7 separate regions of the Homo sapiens genome follow, and regions 1, 2, 4, 5, 6 and 7 are each linked to region 3. The links are contacts of gene promoters, found by promoter capture Hi-C in human tissues and cell types (Jung and others, 2019). All regions are on one chromosome and are shown on one strand. The core of a region is centred on a gene start or on the middle of the fragment in contact, and the rest is flanking DNA. Distances in the headings are between cores, read along the strand shown.

Evidence for each region. The method cuts DNA at HindIII sites, captures the fragments that hold promoters and counts their contacts. A contact is called where the count stands out against the background at its distance.
Region 1: a fragment that was not itself captured here is called in contact with the fragment with the promoter of HAS2 in region 3 in 1 of the 25 tissues and cell types used here (H1 embryonic stem cells).
Region 2: a fragment that was not itself captured here is called in contact with the fragment with the promoter of HAS2 in region 3 in 2 of the 25 tissues and cell types used here (aorta and mesenchymal stem cells).
Region 4: a contact is called between a fragment that was not itself captured here and the fragment with the promoter of HAS2 in region 3, in 1 of the 25 tissues and cell types used here (H1 embryonic stem cells).
Region 5: a contact is called between a fragment that was not itself captured here and the fragment with the promoter of HAS2 in region 3, in 2 of the 25 tissues and cell types used here (H1 embryonic stem cells and IMR-90 fibroblasts).
Region 6: a fragment that was not itself captured here is called in contact with the fragment with the promoter of HAS2 in region 3 in 1 of the 25 tissues and cell types used here (dorsolateral prefrontal cortex).
Region 7: a contact is called between a fragment that was not itself captured here and the fragment with the promoter of HAS2 in region 3, in 1 of the 25 tissues and cell types used here (IMR-90 fibroblasts).

The regions. Positions count from the first base shown.
Region 1 is chr8:121,355,838-121,358,592 of GRCh38, forward strand. No RefSeq gene overlaps it. Among named protein-coding and RNA genes, the nearest start is that of HAS2, 280 kb to the right of the region's middle. The HindIII fragment of the contact is 4,755 bases long and covers 1-2,755 here.
Region 2 is chr8:121,943,817-121,946,516 of GRCh38, forward strand. No RefSeq gene overlaps it. Among named protein-coding and RNA genes, the nearest start is that of LINC02855, 250 kb to the left of the region's middle. The HindIII fragment of the contact is 5,685 bases long and covers 1-2,700 here.
Region 3 is chr8:121,640,025-121,642,724 of GRCh38, forward strand. It overlaps HAS2 (hyaluronan synthase 2), which reads right to left and starts at 1,416. Exons shown (of 4, transcript NM_005328.3): 1 at 829-1,416. It also overlaps HAS2-AS1. RefSeq lists an enhancer at 2,075-2,698. The HindIII fragment of the contact is 13,134 bases long and covers 1-2,700 here.
Region 4 is chr8:122,135,679-122,138,378 of GRCh38, forward strand. No RefSeq gene overlaps it. Among named protein-coding and RNA genes, the nearest start is that of SMILR, 430 kb to the right of the region's middle. The HindIII fragment of the contact is 3,663 bases long and covers 1-2,700 here.
Region 5 is chr8:122,054,439-122,057,138 of GRCh38, forward strand. No RefSeq gene overlaps it. Among named protein-coding and RNA genes, the nearest start is that of LINC02855, 360 kb to the left of the region's middle. The HindIII fragment of the contact is 6,115 bases long and covers 1-2,700 here.
Region 6 is chr8:121,279,941-121,282,640 of GRCh38, forward strand. No RefSeq gene overlaps it. Among named protein-coding and RNA genes, the nearest start is that of HAS2, 360 kb to the right of the region's middle. The HindIII fragment of the contact is 4,388 bases long and covers 1-2,700 here.
Region 7 is chr8:122,119,006-122,121,825 of GRCh38, forward strand. No RefSeq gene overlaps it. Among named protein-coding and RNA genes, the nearest start is that of LINC02855, 420 kb to the left of the region's middle. The HindIII fragment of the contact is 4,493 bases long and covers 1-2,820 here.

The DNA of each region.
Region 1 (2,755 bases), core at 111-2,610, 280 kb before region 3:
TAACGTCCTTTAGGTTCATCCATGTTGTGGCCAATGGCAGGATTTCCTGATTTTTATTGCTCTGATTTGCTCTTTCCATGGTGTATATGTGTATTAAAATATCACTTTGTCCCCCATAAATATACACAATTATTGTTTGTCAATCAAAAATAAAACTAAACAAAGAACTTCACCTTATAAGGTTTTAGGGGGCATTAAATATTTTAGAGCAGTAGCCGGTACACAATATTTGCTAATATGTTAGGTAATGTGAAGGATAACAGAAAGGAAACCCTGGTCTCTACTTTCTCATAGAAAACAAGATATTTGGAAAGAGAAGGCATAAAAGCTCAGTCATGGAGAAGAGGCTGTCTAAAGGTAATCATACAAAAATGCCCAGTGCAGTTCAGGGCTTGTGCCTAGGGTGCACTTGTTCGTTCTAACACTGTATCTTTATTAGCTCTTTAATTCATTTCAAAGTTTTTAAGTTTTACGGTGATCATATTCTCTACCACATGTCACAAGTACATGCCACCTCAAGCCGGACAATGTGAGTCAGTCATGACTTGAGCTCATGCAAAACAATCTGCTTTTCTTGTTTGCTGTGTATTTTAGGCACAGTGTACACAGGAACTCTGGTTAGATCTGACTTCAACAAAATGACTTGGCTGGAATTCATGTAAGATATCCAGGAAAAGAACCAATTGTCCTCCTTCAGTACCACTATTTTAATAAATACAAACCACGAAGTTGGGCTTAAAATGATTTGCTTTGAAAAAGCAGAGGTTACAGCACCCTCACCTCTAAGAAATAGACCACTGCTTCCAGAGCTGTGCCAGAAACTCATCTTTCCTCTCTTGGGCCTGACTTGAGGCTGGAGATGTAAGGGGATTCCTGACAGAGGGCAGGATACACATGCCAGTCTTGTCTTTCTCTTGGGTTTGGGGTAGGAATTAGTGGGTGTTCTTTCTCCATCCAACAAGCCTCTCAATCTACTAGAAAATGAGGAAATGCACTCATTGTAAAGTCTGGATCATTTCAGCTTTGAATTAGAGGATTGGTATTTCTCTTGTGGATTGCAAAACACACACACACACACGCAGGTCACTAATACAGGCTTTAGGTTAAGATGTTAAATGACATTTCCCTCTCTCTTCATTTCCTATATTCTCCCCCTGCCAACTACCACCCTTTTTGGCCTTTTATTTGTTTACAAGCCTTGCATTTCAAGCCACTGAAGAATCCAAATCTTGTTCACTCAAAAAGTGACTTTCCATTAAGGAAGGAAATTCATAGGAGCAAAAAAGCTTAGCAGGACCCACACTAAATAGCTTCATCTCCCAATGATTCAAGGAGCTGGCACTTGGTGATTCCTCACATTATTCTCTGAATGCCATGACCTATATGTCAAAGTGAGAGGACGCTTCTGGATGTTTCTTGTCTTTGAAAAGTAATGCTCCAGGGACAAAGAGTTTCTTTTTCTGGGCAGTAATGACGGCCACGAGGTGGGAGCCATAAACCAGGCAAGCCTGGGCAGTGTGCATGCTGACATTTTTCATTCCTAATATCCCACAAGTATTTCAGCTTCAACAGAGCCTCTGTGCAAATGAAAAGGAACTTTTTTGTTTCTAGATTTTGTTATATTATGATTGAAAATTCCTACCAGCCTCCCAGTTACCCGTTTGAAGATAGACCGGCAAAACTATTTTTACCACCTTTATATCCTCCCATTTTACAAGCAAAAGGAATTAATAATATTAGTGTCGCTTTCTCTAGGTTAATAAAATTCATGCTTCTTACTTCCCCAGAGCCTTTTGCCTGTGCATTTAGAAATCCCAGCAGCTATTGTTCAGCCAGGGCTGCCCACAACCCATTTCTAAGCGATGTGCAAGTAGGCAGATTAGATCCCAGACATAAAAATTAAAATTTAAAAAAATTTTAAAAGCATGGCCAACTTTTGTAAATATGAATGACCTATTCTAAAAGAAAAGAACTAACATTTTGCACAAAGATGGAGATATGTTGGTTTATTTTTTTCCATCTAGAAATAGTTGATAAGACCTTTATCCCCTTTACTCCCCCCAAACCTCCAACTTCCATCCCTAAGCACCCTATTATTTGGAGGAAAAGTCCATTCAGACTCCTTTCCTTTCCTTCCTACCTGCCTCCCTCTCTCCCTCCCTCCCTCTCTTTTTCTCTCTCTCCCTCCTTTTCTCTCTCCCATCTTCAAACATTTCTTGAATGTATGCTATGTGATAGACACTGGGCTCAATTATAGGAACAAAGCCATGAACAGTAAAACACAGTCTCATTCCTAATAGCGTATAGGCTGGATAGTAAGAAATATTACATAAATAATTACATACATAATATTCTATATATAAATGTACCAATGATGGCTGGACGCGGTGGCTCACACCTGTCATCCCAGCACTTTGGGAGGCTGAGGCAGGTGGATCACCTAGGTCAGGAGTTCGAGACCAGCCTGACCAATATGATGAAACCCCATCTATACTAAAATTACAAAAATTAGCCAGGCATGGTGGAGTGCACCTGTAATTCCAGCTACTCGGGAGGCTGAGGCAGGAAAATCTCTTGAACCAGGGAGGTGGAGGTTGCAGTGAGCAGAGATCGCACCACTGCATTCCAGCCTGGGCAATAGAGCAAGACTCTGTCTCAAAAAACAAACAAACAAATAAATAAATATACCAATGATAACTACGATAAATGCAGAGTTTAGGGAGTTATATAAGCACATACCGAGGACTTAAAACTC
Region 2 (2,700 bases), core at 48-2,547, 300 kb after region 3:
TGAAAACCTGTCTCTACTAAAAGATAAAAAATTAGCTGGTCGTGGTGGGACGAGCCTGTAGTCCCAGCTACTCAGGAGGCTGAGGCGGGGGAATTGCTTGAATCTGAGAGGTGGAGGTTGCAGTGAGCCTAGATCTCACTACTGTGCTCCAGCCTGGTGACTGAGTGAGATTCTGTCTTAAAAAAAAAAAAAAAAAAAAGCATGTACTGTTTATGTTTATTTATAGAGATTGCAAATAGTGTATAAAATCATTGTATAAGGGTTTTGATGAACTTGAAACCAAAACAGCAGAAATTAGGCTTTATGAAAAGGTCTTCATCTGTGAAGAGAATGAGTGAAAGATTTGAGCTTTGGATATTTTGCTAGACTAAGAGAGGACATCTGATAACCCTCACAAGATGTATGCATGTTCTCACTTGAAGTCCTGTAAGCACCTCAAAGGAATGGAGTAGGGAAGGGGAAGTGGCTAATAAATGTGTACTTAGGTTCAACTGTATATTTATTGAGGGCCTATAATAAACAAAAACAAATTAGACATGGTCTATGCCATCAGGCATTTATATCCAAAAGAGAAAGACAGGCCTATAAAAAGATATTTTGAATAAAATATCAACATGGGGATAACAGAGGTTTGCTGAGGTTGTTAATGGAACATGTGGGTGGCGGGGGGGTGGGGGTCACCCAACCTAGAGTAGTCAGGGAAGATTTCCTTGGAAGGCTGTGTATTAGCAACAGTTTGTTAATTTCTCCTCAAATTGTTCTTTTTAGTGACAGGGTCTCCCTCCAACACCCAGCTAGAATGTAGTGGCGAGATCATAGCTCACTGCAGCCTTGAACTCTTGGGATCAAGAGGTCCTCCTGCCTCAGCCTCCTGAGTAGCTGGGACTACAGACATGCACCACCACATCTGGCCCTCAAAATTGTCCTTCTATTTGTGATATAGAGTAATTTAAAATGAAATAATAGCATCAGTCAGTGTTTAGAATGGGAAAGAGTCTTCAAAATCTATTGAACCAGATTCAGGGAGGTTTAATTCTTGAGCCCAAGACAGTCTGTGACAATGGCCAAGACAAATTGAGCCATTACATGATATATAAGGTTCCAAACACATTTTCACAAGTGCCCAAGGGCAACCCAGGCTAATTGTAATATAGCCAATGTATTTTGTTTGATTAAATTTACTTAGCATTATTATAAAAAGCCAGTAAAGCTGATGAGGAGAGAATCATTTTTACCTTCAAAAACATGGACTTCAAATGTTTTCTTGGGCACACCATTTTTAAAATTTAGAATTATCTGTCTTTTCCCCTCAAGAATAGCCCTGTCTACAGCCCTCAAAACCAACTTCACTTAACATCATTTATTTAAGTTCTATTAAACTTTCCCAAATCTATTAGTCAACAAATAATTATTTGGCATAAAAATACTTTCCTCAAATAATCTTTCATCTAGTTATAAAAGTAAGTAAGTTTGTATATTAGCTCAAGATCAATTAAAAATATTAAAATTAAAAATCAATAAAAAATTAAAGATATGCAAATGTATATACATATATCCTCAATCTATTTATGCTCAGGAGATTATACAAATATGTTTAGCACTCACATTTCAGAATGTACTATGGTATCTACCTCCCCTTTGTGGGAATAAAAGATTCCTCCAGCTCAAGTGCTCAGGTACACTTGTTTGGCAAAATGATGTACACGTAAATACATGAGGAGCCCACTTTGATGTCAAAGGTATATCATTTTTGGGTTTTCATCTGCTTTTTTATAACTTATTTTATTTTTGTGGCTTTTTTATCTGCTTTTTGACTTTGGAAATAATCAAAGAAAAAAAACCCTCTTTTTAATATATTGCTTTCTATTGCTGCTCTAATAAATTACCAAAAATTTAATGACGTACATGGTTTAATTACCAAAACATATTTATTTTACATTTCTGGAAGTCACAATCCTAAATGAGTCGTACAAGGCTAAAATCATCAGAAGTCACTGTTTCCCCTGAAGGGTTCAGGAGGAATCTGTTTTCTTGCCTATTCCAGTTTCTAGAGGCTATCTGCTTTTCTTGACCCATTACCCTGCATCACTCCAACCTTTGATCCATTGCTGTATCTTCATCTTTGACTCTGACCCTCCTGCCCTCCTCTTATAAAGACCCTTGTGATCACATTCAGTCCACTCAGATAATCTGGGATTTTCTCCCAATCTGAAGCTCCTTAAATTAACTATGTTTGTAAAGCTGTTTTTGTGACATAAAATAACGCATTTACAGATTTCAGAGATTAGAATGGCTATCTTTGGGGATCTATTATTCAGACTGCCATACAATAACTTAAGAATAAAAGAATAAAAATTCATTAAGAATAAAAAGAATAAAAATTAATAATTTTTGAGAAAACAATAGCTTTGAAAGAAATAACTATGAAGGATTCTTTTTTTCCCTCAAAACACACACACACAAAAGAAACAAAGGCATCAGAATATCTTCTTATAAATAACACAATATAAACCCAGTGCAAATGAAATATAGGATTTTAAGCTTCTTCCAGGAAGTAGATGAACCTTTGCCAAGTAAGTAATAATTTCTAGTTTGGTCAAGGACAAATAAAAAGCCAGTCCACTATTTGATGAAACTATTTAATATGCATGTAGAGAAAAGCTCATTTAAAAGCACATTACCTGCCAAAATAAAATTACA
Region 3 (2,700 bases), core at 166-2,665:
TGCCGAAGCGCAGCGCGCGGTCCCCACGCACGCCCTGCCTCCGGGCGGCCGGCGGGCTGGCCCGGCGAGGAGAGGAGGGATGCGCGCCCTCCTCCCGCTCCTATCTGCGGGTGCCACCGCCTGCGTCAGGGACCCCTGGCCCGAGTAAGCCCAGACTGACGAGCCTGACACTTTAATGGGGTGCGGGAAGTGCAAAGGAGGGGAGGCCCGGGAAAGGGGGGAGTGGCCGAGAGGGGATGGTAGCTGCGAGGAGGTAGAGAAGGACCCTCCTTCTCCAGGGTCCCAGCTTGTCGGAGCTGGAAGCCCAGATTGCTTAACCCTTTGCATTCCCAGCAAGAAGCGACTTTTTCACTTAGAAGTAAAACGCGCTGGGCTATTCCAGTTTTTCTCCCCACAGTGTGTGTGTGTGTGTGTGTGTGTGGGAAAAAAAGAAGGGAAGGGGTGGGGCGGCTGTGCAGAATGCATTTTCCTTACATTGGGAATTCTTGTTTCCTAACTCTGGAGCCCCTCTGCTGCTCCGGAAGATGCAAAATGGAAAAGTACATCTGAGGACGTGCAGCCTTTCCCAGGCAGAGAGGCTACCTGTGTCCCCAGAAAGGCAGCGGATTTCTGGCGAGAGCCGCAGAAATGGGAAAAGAGGGCTATGTTGCTAAGCCTGACAGTGACCTGAAATATTCCCTGATCTTCAGTCTGTTGGAAATTTTTAAACTTCCAACTTTTCTATCGAAACTGGCTTAAAAATTTTAAAACAATTATAAGGATGTCTTCCTTCTCCCTGGCCTGTTGGAGGACCTTCATCCTTCACCAAAACGCGCCAGTGTAACGTACCTTGTTCAGCTCTTGGTCATAAAGTCGTCCTCAGCCTGTCTGTGTGGTCCCGGAGGGTCGGTGGCGGGCAGTTTCCAAAATTGAGGTAATAAGAGATCAGATGAATTTGAGACGACCGGCCAAAAAAAATAAGAAATTTAAAAACAACATTTAAAAAGGATAGGGGAGTCTTAAATGTTTGATTCTTCCCCACTTTAAAAAATAATTTCACTAATATTCTCTTTATGTTTCCGTTGCACTTCAGTCTAATTCTTAAAAAAATTATGCTTTAAAAATAAATTAACTTTTCTTTTTTCTTTTCTTTTCTTTTTTTTTTTTTTTTTTTTTTGGGCTTCAGTCTTTCTGCCCCCGATAACAGAAAATCTCTTTTTCGTCTTAAAAAAAAAAAAAAAAAAAAAAAAAGCCTGTGGAAGACTCAGCAGAACCCAGGAAGCGCAGAATTGGGAGAAAAGTCTTTGGCTGGGGCTGTTTCAAGTCTCTGGTTCAATGGGCTGCTCGAAGCCAGGACTGGGTAATTCTTTCCAGACGTCTTGACTTCTCCTTCCCCGCCGTTGTTGCCCTTCTGCCTCCTCCAACTTAAGGGGGTCTTAACAAGTGAGCTGGTGGGTGTTTTAATAGGGCGGCGGAGGGAGTGGGGGGGTGAGGGAAGTGGAGAGGGAGGTGTGGACTGGGGAACCCTGAGGGGAGGGAACTGGGAGCGCGGGCGGGCGGGCGAGCGGGAGGCGGGGAGGGGGAGAGGGAGAGAGAGAAATTGGCCATTCAAAGCCTTCTCTGAGCTACAGGCCGGTTCTAAACTCCAATGAATTCAATTAACTTGATTGCTAACGTGTGCAGAGAAATGCAAGACACATAGGGGGCCACCACCTGATTCCTTACTTTCCTCTGGCGGCGGAGGTGGGAGCCCTCGCCTCTTGGATTTCCCTGAACTCCCGCGTTACAAGTTCCCTCCAAGCGATAAACTCCCTGTGGCGCTGAAGTAATTTGTTTTAAAGCCAAATGGTGCCCTTCAGCTAAGTAACCGACCCAAGGAGGAACAGTTGGGAGGGGTGTGTGCACGTGTGTGTGTGTGTGTGTAAGTGTGTGCGTGTGTGTGTGTACCTGGAGCCTTCGACAGCCGGCTGGGACTCTAAAAAGATCGCGCTGGTCCACCACTTGTTAACCCTTTCTTCCCGCCAACTCAAAAGTTTCTGAGCTGACGTCAAGTGTCAAAGCCTTTCTCATAAAGAGGTTTCTGCCGTGGGTGGGCGGAAAACATAGAAAAGTAATTATATGTATATTTTTGCTCAATCTGGTCCCCTAACGTAAACATACTCAAACAGCGCGCATTAAAAATAAAATAATAAAAATTGTTTTCTGGAGGACTTATATTTAGCCATCTTGAAGGAAATGGCTTAACTGGCTTTTGCTTTTTGCAAGCCTTCTGCAAAGTTGACGAGGACAAATATGTCTTGCTTGGAGATGGCCTTTCCTCGTCGTTTTCACAATGCCCCAAGGCTGGGTAGAGTTCGTTTTTTGGTTACTCCTCCCCCCACCACTCCGCCTCCTTTCTTTCTCTTGGACCTTGCCAACAAGCCTGCTGATGACTGAAAATGGACAGTAGGTGGCACTGTTGAGGAAAAAATGAGAGTGACTTTACAAATTAACCAACTTGGTCTTGGGAGATTGCGCTGAAATTGTTATAGGGTAAAACAGATTTTTCTTTCTTTCTTTTTTCCTTCTTCCCCTTCCAAGGATCTTCTGAGGGGTGGACTTCTTTGGAACTCGACAGGACCTTGAAGACTGGGTTCTTAGTCCTTATCACATATATGGGCTATAATGAATAAGTCTAAACAGAAAAGTCGAATAAACTGGAAATGATGCTTTCATCACGTC
Region 4 (2,700 bases), core at 175-2,674, 500 kb after region 3:
ACTCTGGAGGCTGAGGCAGGAGAATCGCTTGAACCTGGGAAGCAGGGGTTGCAGTGAGCAGAGATATGCACCATTGCACTCCAGCCTAGGTGACAAGCGAAACTCTGTCTCCAAATAACAAATAAATAAATAAAAATAAAGTCTTTTATTTTGTCTTTTCTTAAAAAGGGTAATAGCTGAACTTTATATCCCTATCTCAGTTTGATGTTCTAGTGAATTTTTATCTTGGAATTACAGTACATTTTTATATTTGATCATACACATTTGGGAGTGCTGACATCCTTTTATGGAAATTGAAGAGTTTAACAAAGAGACTCACTGGATAGAGAAGTCAATACAACATACAATGTAAAACTATTGCTTCAGAGTTAGATGTAATCAGATAGATTCAAATTTCATCTTTGACACTAGATGTGTAACCATGGGGAAGTTACTCAAAATCTCCAATCCCCAATTTTCTTAACTTTAAAATAGTGATAATAACGATGCCTGCATAATACAGAGATTATGATGAAGATTGAATATAATGCTATAATAAAGTATTCAATGTAGTGTTAGTCTGAAAACAAACAACAATGATAAATTTGGTTAATGTTAATTTTATCACTGCTGATATTGGTGTAATTTCTCCCTTCCATTTAATATGTTTTAGAGTTATGCTGCAATTAGTACGATTTTATAGTCATTATTATGCTTCTTTGTAGACTCAAAGGTAGGAAACTGATGAGAAACCCTCAGGGAACTCTTGTACCACTTAGTGAAGAATCCAGGGTAATATAGGTAATAGATGGATGATGTTGCATGAATTGGAAGATGATCAGAAATAAATGAACCTGGCTTTAGTCCCCAGAATCAATGTATAAATAATGGTATTTAACGTGATATCAACTTTGTGGGGAGGGAGACTTAGATATTAAACAATTTTAAAGTAGTTGGCCTGAGTAACATGTAAAAATTGCTCTGATCTCCTAGACATCATGGTAGACTATGTTAATATTTATTGAGAAAATGTGTGTATGGTTTTTTTAGTTCAATGACACACTACAAATATGTTAAACTGAACAACATAAGGAAAGTCTCACAACACCAGAGAAAATGTTAAGCCTCACTTATGACCCTATTTCTCAGTTTAAATGGTGGCATTGGTTGTATATTGACATAAGACAGAAAAAGCCAGCTATAATAATGAATTATATATCACCAGGGCTCAGACATTGTCTTACAAAATATTGCAACAGATAAGATAAGGAGGTCTCTGTAACCCTATACATGGAGTCGGCTCAAAAAATATTTCTTAACTAAATGAACAAAGGAATTAATGTATTAGTTGACTAACTCATTTGAACTTAATTTGCCATTATACTTTTCTGTTTCAACTTCAATTCTAACAAACTCACAAAATTTAATTTTTACATTCAATTTTGAATATGTGAACTTTTAAAAATGTAGCTAAGTTTCCTTCCTGGTGAAATCAGCAGATTTTAGGATAATTTTCCTGTCTATACCAGTAGCTCCTAGATGCATTCACTTGTGAGTAATTGCCCAGCAAACGCGGGAGGCCACAGAAGAATGGAGTTGATGAAATGAGAACATCACAGGGAGGAGGAAGTCATCACCAAGGCCTGGGCACATGTTGTTCCTCACCACACTGAGTGCACACCAGCCCACTGAGCACCCCCGGGACATCTCACTCTACACACATTTCTGGCATCATCTGGGAGAAGCAACAAGTTGCCAGTCTCTGCTTCCTCATGGCAGTAGGAGACTTGCTGGAAATTGATATTATTTGGGCTTGTCTCCCTGCGAGACACAAAGCATAACATCCAAGATTTGTACATGCCTGTCCCACCGTGACCAGCGGGTGGGGTAGGGGAAGCTCTGCCTGCTTGGAACACCCAGCTCTTTAACGGGATAGAGCAGAGTTGCGAGGCAGGGGAGCTGGGGGAATGTTCTAAAACCACACCTCTGCCTTTCGGCATTTTAAGTAAACTGAAAAGCATTCTGTGGGGACGGGCTTTTGGAAGACTTCTATGCTCTTGATGAAAGCACAAGTTCTAACAGGAGGTCTCTTGCAGAGCTGGACTTCAGGAAGCGAACTGCAGAAGGACAATCTTCAAGAAAAGCAAATGCCAGGAGACGGGAGTGCACTTGGAACAGATGAGAACAGATGATAAAAGCTTCATTAGAATCTCTCTCAGCCAGAGAGAGACATTGACATTATAGACTTTTTAGTAGAGTTGGAAAGTAAAATGCACAGAAATATCACCTTGATAGGAAGAAGTGCATGCAGAAAGAAAGGCACAGATAAATTTCCCAAGAGGTCAAAAAATAGAAGAACAATTACTTCCATTTGGGAGAAACTACCTGAAGCTTTACAGAAAAAAATACAACCTGTGAACAGTACTCAGTAAATCATAAAGATGGTGTACTTAAAAAAAAAAAGAAAGCTGGTAGTGTACATTTGAAGCCTTATCTCAGGGAAAATAACATGATACACAATTGTATCGTGTTATTTTACCTTCCCTTACCTTTTACCTGTATCATGTTATTTTACCTTTATTGAATTAAAAGTAATTAGAATACCATTCAGCAACATTTCGCTCAAATACCCCATTGGAAATTTAAATAGGATTATATTACATTTATAAATTAACTTGGAGTGAATGGATATCTTGCAAATATTTAGTCTCAGTCTACAGG
Region 5 (2,700 bases), core at 71-2,570, 410 kb after region 3:
GAAAAGAACTAGAGAAGCAAGAGCAAACAAATTCAAAAGCTGGCAGAAGACAAGAAATAACTAAGATCAGAGCAGAACTGAAGGAGAGACATGGTAAACCCTTCAAAAAATCAATGAATCCAGGAGCTGTTTTTTTGAAAAGATTAATGAAATAGACTGCTAGTCAGACTAATAAAGAAGAAAAGAGAAAGGAATCAAATAGATGCAATAAAAAATGATAAAGGGGATATCACCACTGATCCCACAGAAGTACAAACTATCATCAGAGAATTCTATAAACACCTCTACACAAATAAACTAGAAAATCTAGAAGAAATGGATAAATTCCTGGACACATACATCCTCCCAAGATTAAACCAGGAAGAAGTCGAATCCCTGAATAGACCAATAACAAGTTCTGAAATTGAGGCAGTAATTAATAGCCTACCAACCAAAAAAAGCCCAGGACTGATGGATTCACAGCCGAATTCTTCCAGAGGCACAAAGAGGAGCTGGTACAATTCCTTCTGAAACTATTTCAAACAACAGAAAAAGAGGGCCTCCTCCCTAACTAATTTTATGGGACCAGAATCATCCTGATACCAAAATCTGGCAGAGACACAACAAAAAAAGAAAATTTCAGGCCAATATCCCCTAATGAATATCGATGCGAAAATCCTCAATAAAATACTGGCAAACCAAATCCAGCAGCACATCAAGAAGCTGATCCACCACGATGAAGTCAGCTTCATCTCTGGGATGCAAGGCTTGTTCAACATATGTAGATCAAAAAATCTAATCCATCACATAAACGGAACCAATGACAAAAACCACATGATTATCTCAATAGATGAGAAAAGGCCTTCGACAAAATTCAACACCCCTTCATGCCAAAAACTCTCAATAACCTAGGTATTGATGGAACATATCTCAAAATAATATGAGCTACTTATGAGAAACCCACAGCCAATATAATACGGAATGGGCAAAAACTGGAAGCATTCCCTTTGAAAACTGGCACAAGACAAGAATGCCGTCTCTCACCACTCCTATTCAACATAGTATTCGAAGTTCTGGCCAGGGCAATCCGGTAAGAGAGATAAATAGAGGGTATTCAAATAGGAAAAGAGGAAGTCAAATTATCTCTGTTTGCAGATGACATGATTGTATATTTAGAAAACCCCACCATCTCAGCTCAAATCTCCTTAAGCTGATAAGGAACTTCAGCACAGTCTCAGGATACAAAATCAATGTGCAAAAGTCACAAGCATTCCTATACCCCAATAAGAGACAAACAGCCAAATCATGAGTGAATTCCCATTCACAATTGCTACAAAGAGAATAAAATACCTAGGAATCCAACTTACAAGGGATGTGAAGGACCTCTTCAAGGAGAACTACAAACTGCTGCTCAAGGAAATAAGAGAGGACACAAGCAAATGGAAAAACATTCCATGCTCATGGATAGGAAAAATCAATATCATGAAAATGGCCATACTACCCAAAGTAATTTATAGATTCAATGCTATTCCCATCAAGCTACCACTGACTTTCTTCACACAATTAGAAAAAAACTACTTTAAATTTCATATGGAACCAAAAAACTGCCCATATAGCCAAGACAATCCTAAGCAAAAAGAACAAAGCTAGAGCATCACGCTACCTGTCTTCCAGCTACACTACAAGGCTACAGTAACCAAAACAGCATGGTACTGGTACCGAAACAGATATATAGACCAATGGAACAGAACAGAGACCTCAGAAATAACACTACACATCTACAACCATCTGATGTTTAACAAACCTGACAAAAACAAGCAATGGGGAAAGGATTCCCTATTTAATAAATGGTGTTGGGAAAACTGGCTAGCCAAAAGCAGAAAACTGAAACTGGACCCCTTCTTTACACCTTATACAAACATTAACTCAAGATGGATTAAAGACTTAAACGTAAGACCTAAAACCATAAAACCCCTATCCTAGAAGAAAACCCAGGCAATATCATTCAGGACATAGGCACGGGCAAAACGTCATGACTAAAACACCAAAAGCTATGACAACAAAAGCCAAAATTGACAAATGAGATCTAATTAAACTAAAGAGCTTCTGCACAACAAAGAAACTATCATCAAAGTGAAAAGGCAGCCTACACAATGGGAGAAAATTTTTGCAATCTATCCATCTGACAAAAGGCTAATATCCAGAATCTATAAGGAAATTAAGCAAATTTACAAGAAAAAAAAAACCCATCAAAAAGTGGGCAAAGGATATGAACAGATACTTCTCAAAAGAAGACATTTTATGTGGCCAACAAACATATGGAAAAAAGCTCATCATCACTAGTCATTAGGGAAATGCAAATCAAAACCACAATGAGTTACCATCTCACACCAATTAGAATGGTGATCACTAAAAAGTCAGGAAACAACAGATGCTGGAGAGGATGTAGAGAAATAGGAATGCTTTTACACTGTTGGTGGGAGTGTAAATTAGTTCAACCATTATGGAAGACAGTGTGGCAATTCCTCAAGGATCTGGACTCAGAAATATCATTTGACCCAGCAATCCCACTACTGCATATATACCCAAAGGATTATAAATCATTCTACTATAAAGACACATGCACATGTATGTTTATTGCAGCACTGTTCACAATAGCAAAGACTTGGAACCAACCCAAATGTCCATCAATGATAGATTGGATAAAGAAAATTTGGCACA
Region 6 (2,700 bases), core at 99-2,598, 360 kb before region 3:
GCTCTGTTTTCTTTACTAAAAGGAAATGTGAAGTTATGTTCTGGGCAGTCTTTCTTTTTTTTTTTTTTTTTTTTTTTTTTGAGATGGAGTCCTGCTCTGTTGCCCAGGCTGGAGTGCAGTGGCAAAATCTCAGCTCACTACAACCTCCACCTCTCCAGTTCAAGCAATTATCCTGCCTCAGCCTCCCTAGTAGCTGGGATTACAGGTGCACACCACCATGCCCAGCCAATTTTTGTATTTTTAGTAGAGACAATGTTTCATCATGTTGGCCAGGGTGGTCTCGAACTTTTGACCTCAGGTGATCTGCCCACCTCAGCCTCCCAAATTGCTGGGATTACAGGCTTGAGCCACCGTACCTGGCCTTTCTAGGCAGTCTTTTATGTCTATGGTTTACATCATTGAGCTTCTATGCCAGACAGCCAGCAAATATTTCTTAAAATAAAAAAGAAACATAAATAACACATGCCATCTGCTAATAAATAACATATGAAAATATGTAATAAATATATGCCAATATATGATAAATATAATACACCAATTCGTTTTAAAGACATAAACCTTGTTGCAAAAATACTAGAATGCAATTGGATTTTAGAGAGGTACTTTCTCTGTACCTCAGTGTCGTACTTTAGTATTTCCTCAAATTCTCCAAAATAGATGTCGACATTACCAGACCTTTTTTTTCCACAAATGAAAATAGATGGTACACTGAAAAAATAAAATCTATTGATAATATTTATATATTTTATTTATAATGGTTTATAAATAGTCTTAAGATCTGCTTAAATTAATAGTTTGCAGATTTCCACAAAGCATAAAAATTATTTTCTCTGATACTAACCACAGTATTATAGCTAATGTTTATGAAGTAGAATTCTTCTAATAAAGTAATATTTTAATTTTTTTCAAACAAAAGTGATAATGCTAAAACCAAAATTCAGTGACTAGGGAAAGATTGATATGGATCAGCCAAAGTAGCATTAATTCCAATGTGTATTAATTTCATCACTCAATGACGTTCATTTGAATATTCCTACAAATAAACATGTGCACATGCATTAATGTTAGCATGTTAGCAAAAACTTTTTTGACACTATGAAAAATAAAGGTATTGATTGTGGCAACTCGTGTAGTTATATTTGAAATATGGAATAATACTTTTAGTAATTGTTTGCTTTAAGTATTCCAGAAAAAAGTTTCAAGGCAGCATGATTGGTGGGAGATTATATTGAGAACATGTATGCCTTTGTGTTTTCTTTCTTAGAAATGCCAATTAGAAGCAGACGAATTGAGAGTTGGAAACAATGAAAGAAATGGAGTTAAAAAAAAAGTTTTTGCTAATTCACAACATAGATAACCAACAATTACTTAAATGTATTAAAGCTATTTCTTTACAAAACCAATTTCTTTAAATCTATTGTGTTATAAAAAAAATTTCAGGTTCCATGTCATTCATTCATTCATTAACTCATGTAAGAAAATTGTATTTAGTGCCAACTTTTTACCAAGAATGATGCTACTGGTGATGATACAGACATAATTCCTGCCCTTGTGGACTTTGTGGTCTGTTAGAAAATTTTTGTATCAAGTGCAAAATTAATGGAGGGGAGACTTCCTCCTATTCTATGACTCTTTGAAGCATAGTTCCTTATATCCTACTTTTGAAAGCTCTTCGCTAAGATGTAATTGTCCCTCTATACAAGATTTTGTTTTTTCAAATAACTTTGTTTCTTCCTCGGAATGGTAATTAATGAAAGGATGAAGCACCTAGTATTCTATAGTGGTAGAGGAACATTAAAATATAGATAAATTAGAATAAGTCTTTCCAAAGGGAAAAAAGTGGCCGTCAAAAGCTTGCTAAGTTGTCTTTATTTGTAATCACATTAGAAGTTTCCCAACAATAACAATCATTTCAAGAGAAACCAAAGCAGTCCACTGAAGGGCATGGCCAGGAGCAGGTGGTAAATAGAACACACAGCCTATAGGGCAAAGAGGGAAGTTGAGGGAGCAAGGTCTTCTAAAATTGATCATTCTTACAGCAAGCATTTCTACCCACTATCACTTTCAAAGCTCCTATTACACGGTTGTATCCAGCTATTTAAGTGATTCTTTTCTTAGAATCAAGGAGCTTCAGGAGCCCAGAAGAATCATAGAGGTCACCTCAACATTTATCTACCAAGGAGAGTTTACTAATCAAAACAGGGAACTAAAATGCCAAAGGATGTGTTTTTTCTTACAATTTAATTATACCACATTCTCCCTTTTCCATTTAATGTGCATAACTCAATTGAATGTATATTTTCTTATTTATTTGATGATAGCATTGGCATTTATAAATTATTGTCTGAAAGAGCACCAGGGGATGTCTGGTTTCTTTCCCTCAGTAATTTTGCCTGCTTCTGTTTAACAGAGGCATATTTATCTCAGATTTCTGCTTCTTGCCTTCCACAATGAATGACATTTCTTTTCAGATATTTCCATTTCCAGATACGATATTAAGTAACTTCAATAATGTAGAGAAAAATGTTCAAGGATAAACCTCACATAACAGTGTTCTTTTAAACAAATATCTTTCTTAGTGACAACTTTGGGAAGATCTCTTTAGTCTTTTTCATATGCACACACACATATGCACACTTTTAGTTTATAGGATAGTTAAAATGACATGTGCAAATAGCCTTTAGTGAATCTTTTTGACAT
Region 7 (2,820 bases), core at 224-2,723, 480 kb after region 3:
AATAGACAAATAGATCAATGGAACAGAATAGAGAACGCAGAAATAAAACCACATGCGTACAACCAACTGATCTTCAACAAAGTTGGCAAAAATAAACAATGGAGAAAGGATACCCTATTCAATAATAAAAACGAACAAAATCATGTTCTTTGCAGCAACATGCATGGAACTGAAGGCTATTACCCTAAATGGACTGATTCAGAAACAGAACATAAAATACTAGTTGTTCTCACTTATAAGTGGGAGGCAAACAATGGATATGCATGAACATATAGATTGAAAGACACTGGGGATTACAAAAGGAAGGAGGGTGGGAAGGGGTGAGGGTTGAAAAATAACCTTTTGGGTACAAGGCTCACTATTTGGGTGACGGGTACCCTAGATGCCCAATTTCTACTAGTATGCAACATCTCACGTAACAAACATGTCCATGTATCCTAAAATAAAATAAAATTTTAAAAACTTAAGAGTACAAAAAAGTTACAGGGAAAAGCCTATATTTGGAGGAGGAATGTCAGATCATGTCATGACTAGTATTCTGTTCAATTTAATTGATTCCTTCCAAACATGCACATATTCTTTCACTTATTATGAATATTAATTCATCACTCCCTATGTTTTTGGCAAAGTTCTAGATCCTGGATTGCAAATTTAAATACGGTGATAAGGAAGAGTCTTAATCAGAAAGTATCATTTGAGCAAACACCTGAAATAAGAAAGTGAGTCATATAGATGTGTATGTGTTCCTTGGGCGGGGGAAGTGCGTAATTGAAGGCAAGGGAAGCTGCAAGTATAAAGACCCTGAGTTTGAAATGTAATAGCATGGGAAATGTAATAGTATACATTTGAAATGTAATAGTTGGGAAGAGTATGGGAATAGTTGAGAAGATGGGAAGAGTTGAAATGTAATAGCATGGGATGAAATAGCATGAAATGTAATAGTATGGGAATAGTTGGGAATATGGGAAGAGTTGGGAATAGTTGGGAAGAGTATTTCAAATATACATTTGAAATGTAATAGTTGGGAAGAGTATGCAGATCAAATGTGGTTAGAATGGATTGAGAAAGTAGGGAAGTATTAAGAAAGATGATCATTTGGCCATTAACAGGAGCCAGATCATATAGAGCTTGGAGTACATTGTAATGACTTTGGATTTTATTCTAAGCAACAGAAAGAAAGAAGCATTATAGAGTTTTAGATTAGAGATTTTAAAGAGATCAATTTAGCTCCTCTGTTGAAATTAGACTGTGGCAGAATAGGGAAAGGACAGAAGAAGGTGTTCTACATGGGCAATATTTGTAGTAATCTAGGTGAAACAGAATGATGATGTGGCCAAAGTGGAAGCATTGTAAGTAACAAAAAGTGATTGCATTATGCATTTCTTTTGAATGTAAACTTAAGCAATAATAAGGATAGATTGGATATGAGATATTGGACAAAGATAGAAGTCAAAGATGATGTGACTCCAAGTTTTGTGAAAGGATGGACTTGTTATAAATTTGATGAACACAGTAAGGATTTTTCTTTTTTGGTGTGGCATGGGTATGAGAAGGAATCAGGAGTTCAGTTTAGTATGAGATTCTATTAGACAAAAGAGTGGAGATATTGTTTATATATTGAATATATAAGTCTCAAGAATAACAGAGAGGTTCTCATTATAAACATGCATTTGGAAGCTTTCAGTAAATATATATTATCTAAAGACGTGAAATTTGATGAGATCATTAAGGAAGTATATGAAGAAAGACAAGTTAAGAAGCGTAAGGAAATGCTTCAGAGCACTTAGTTGTTAAAGTCTCACCTCATCTTTTAAGGCATGAAAAAGGAAAAGGAGAAGAGACTGAGAATTAAGAGCTAACACTGTAGGAAAAAAAATAAATAAATAAGGACAGTGTGATGTCCTGGACACCAAGGAAGGAGTGTTTCAGGGTGGAGTGTTAAATGATTTTGATAGATAAACATGTGAGGAGTGAGAATTACATCAGCAATATCGAAGTCATTGGTGACACTGACAAGGGTAATTTTTTTGTGATGCAGTAAGAAAGGCAAAATTCTGTTTGTAGTGGTGGATTTAGGAGAGAATAGGAAATGAGGAGCTGGAGACTGTCAATATGGATGATTCTTTAAAAGAACTTGGCTTTAAAGAGAGCAGAAGAATTGAGATGATGTCAGGAGGATGGAAGTGAAATCAAGAGAAGTTCCCTTGTAATAAAATGTGAGAAATAACAGTGTGTGTATGCTGATAGGATTAATTCAAGAGATAAAATTGAGATACAAGGTGGGGGGCAGTTGATAGGGCAGCATTCTTGCGTATGTAAAAAGTAATCGCTAAGAGAGGAAGAGGCAAAGCTTAACTAGGGGTATGAATGGCTTATCCACTCTAAAGTGGGAGAAAGCAGATTATGCAGACATTGATATTATAAACTAAACAGATACAGAAGTAGGAGTTTATGGAAATTCTGTTATGAATGACTGTATGAGAAACCGGTGTTTTATGGCTGTCTTTGCCCTACATGATAGAGATAATATGATCCTCAAAGCCTAAAATATCTACTGTTTGGACCTTTTTGGATAAATATTTGCTAATCTTTTAAAGAGACTGGAACTACAGAGTTCCAGCTTAGTCATTTATTCAAAAAATCTTTAATAAGCGTCTATTATATACCAGGTTCTTTGCAAGGTAGTAAAATAAAAAACACTATAGAAATTGAATTACCTCTGTTCTTCCATTCTTGTTCCCGCTTGTGATGTCTGATTGTTTTCCTCAACACACGATTAAAGCAAAGCAGCTCCTGCCAAGATCATTGCTGATAAATGCC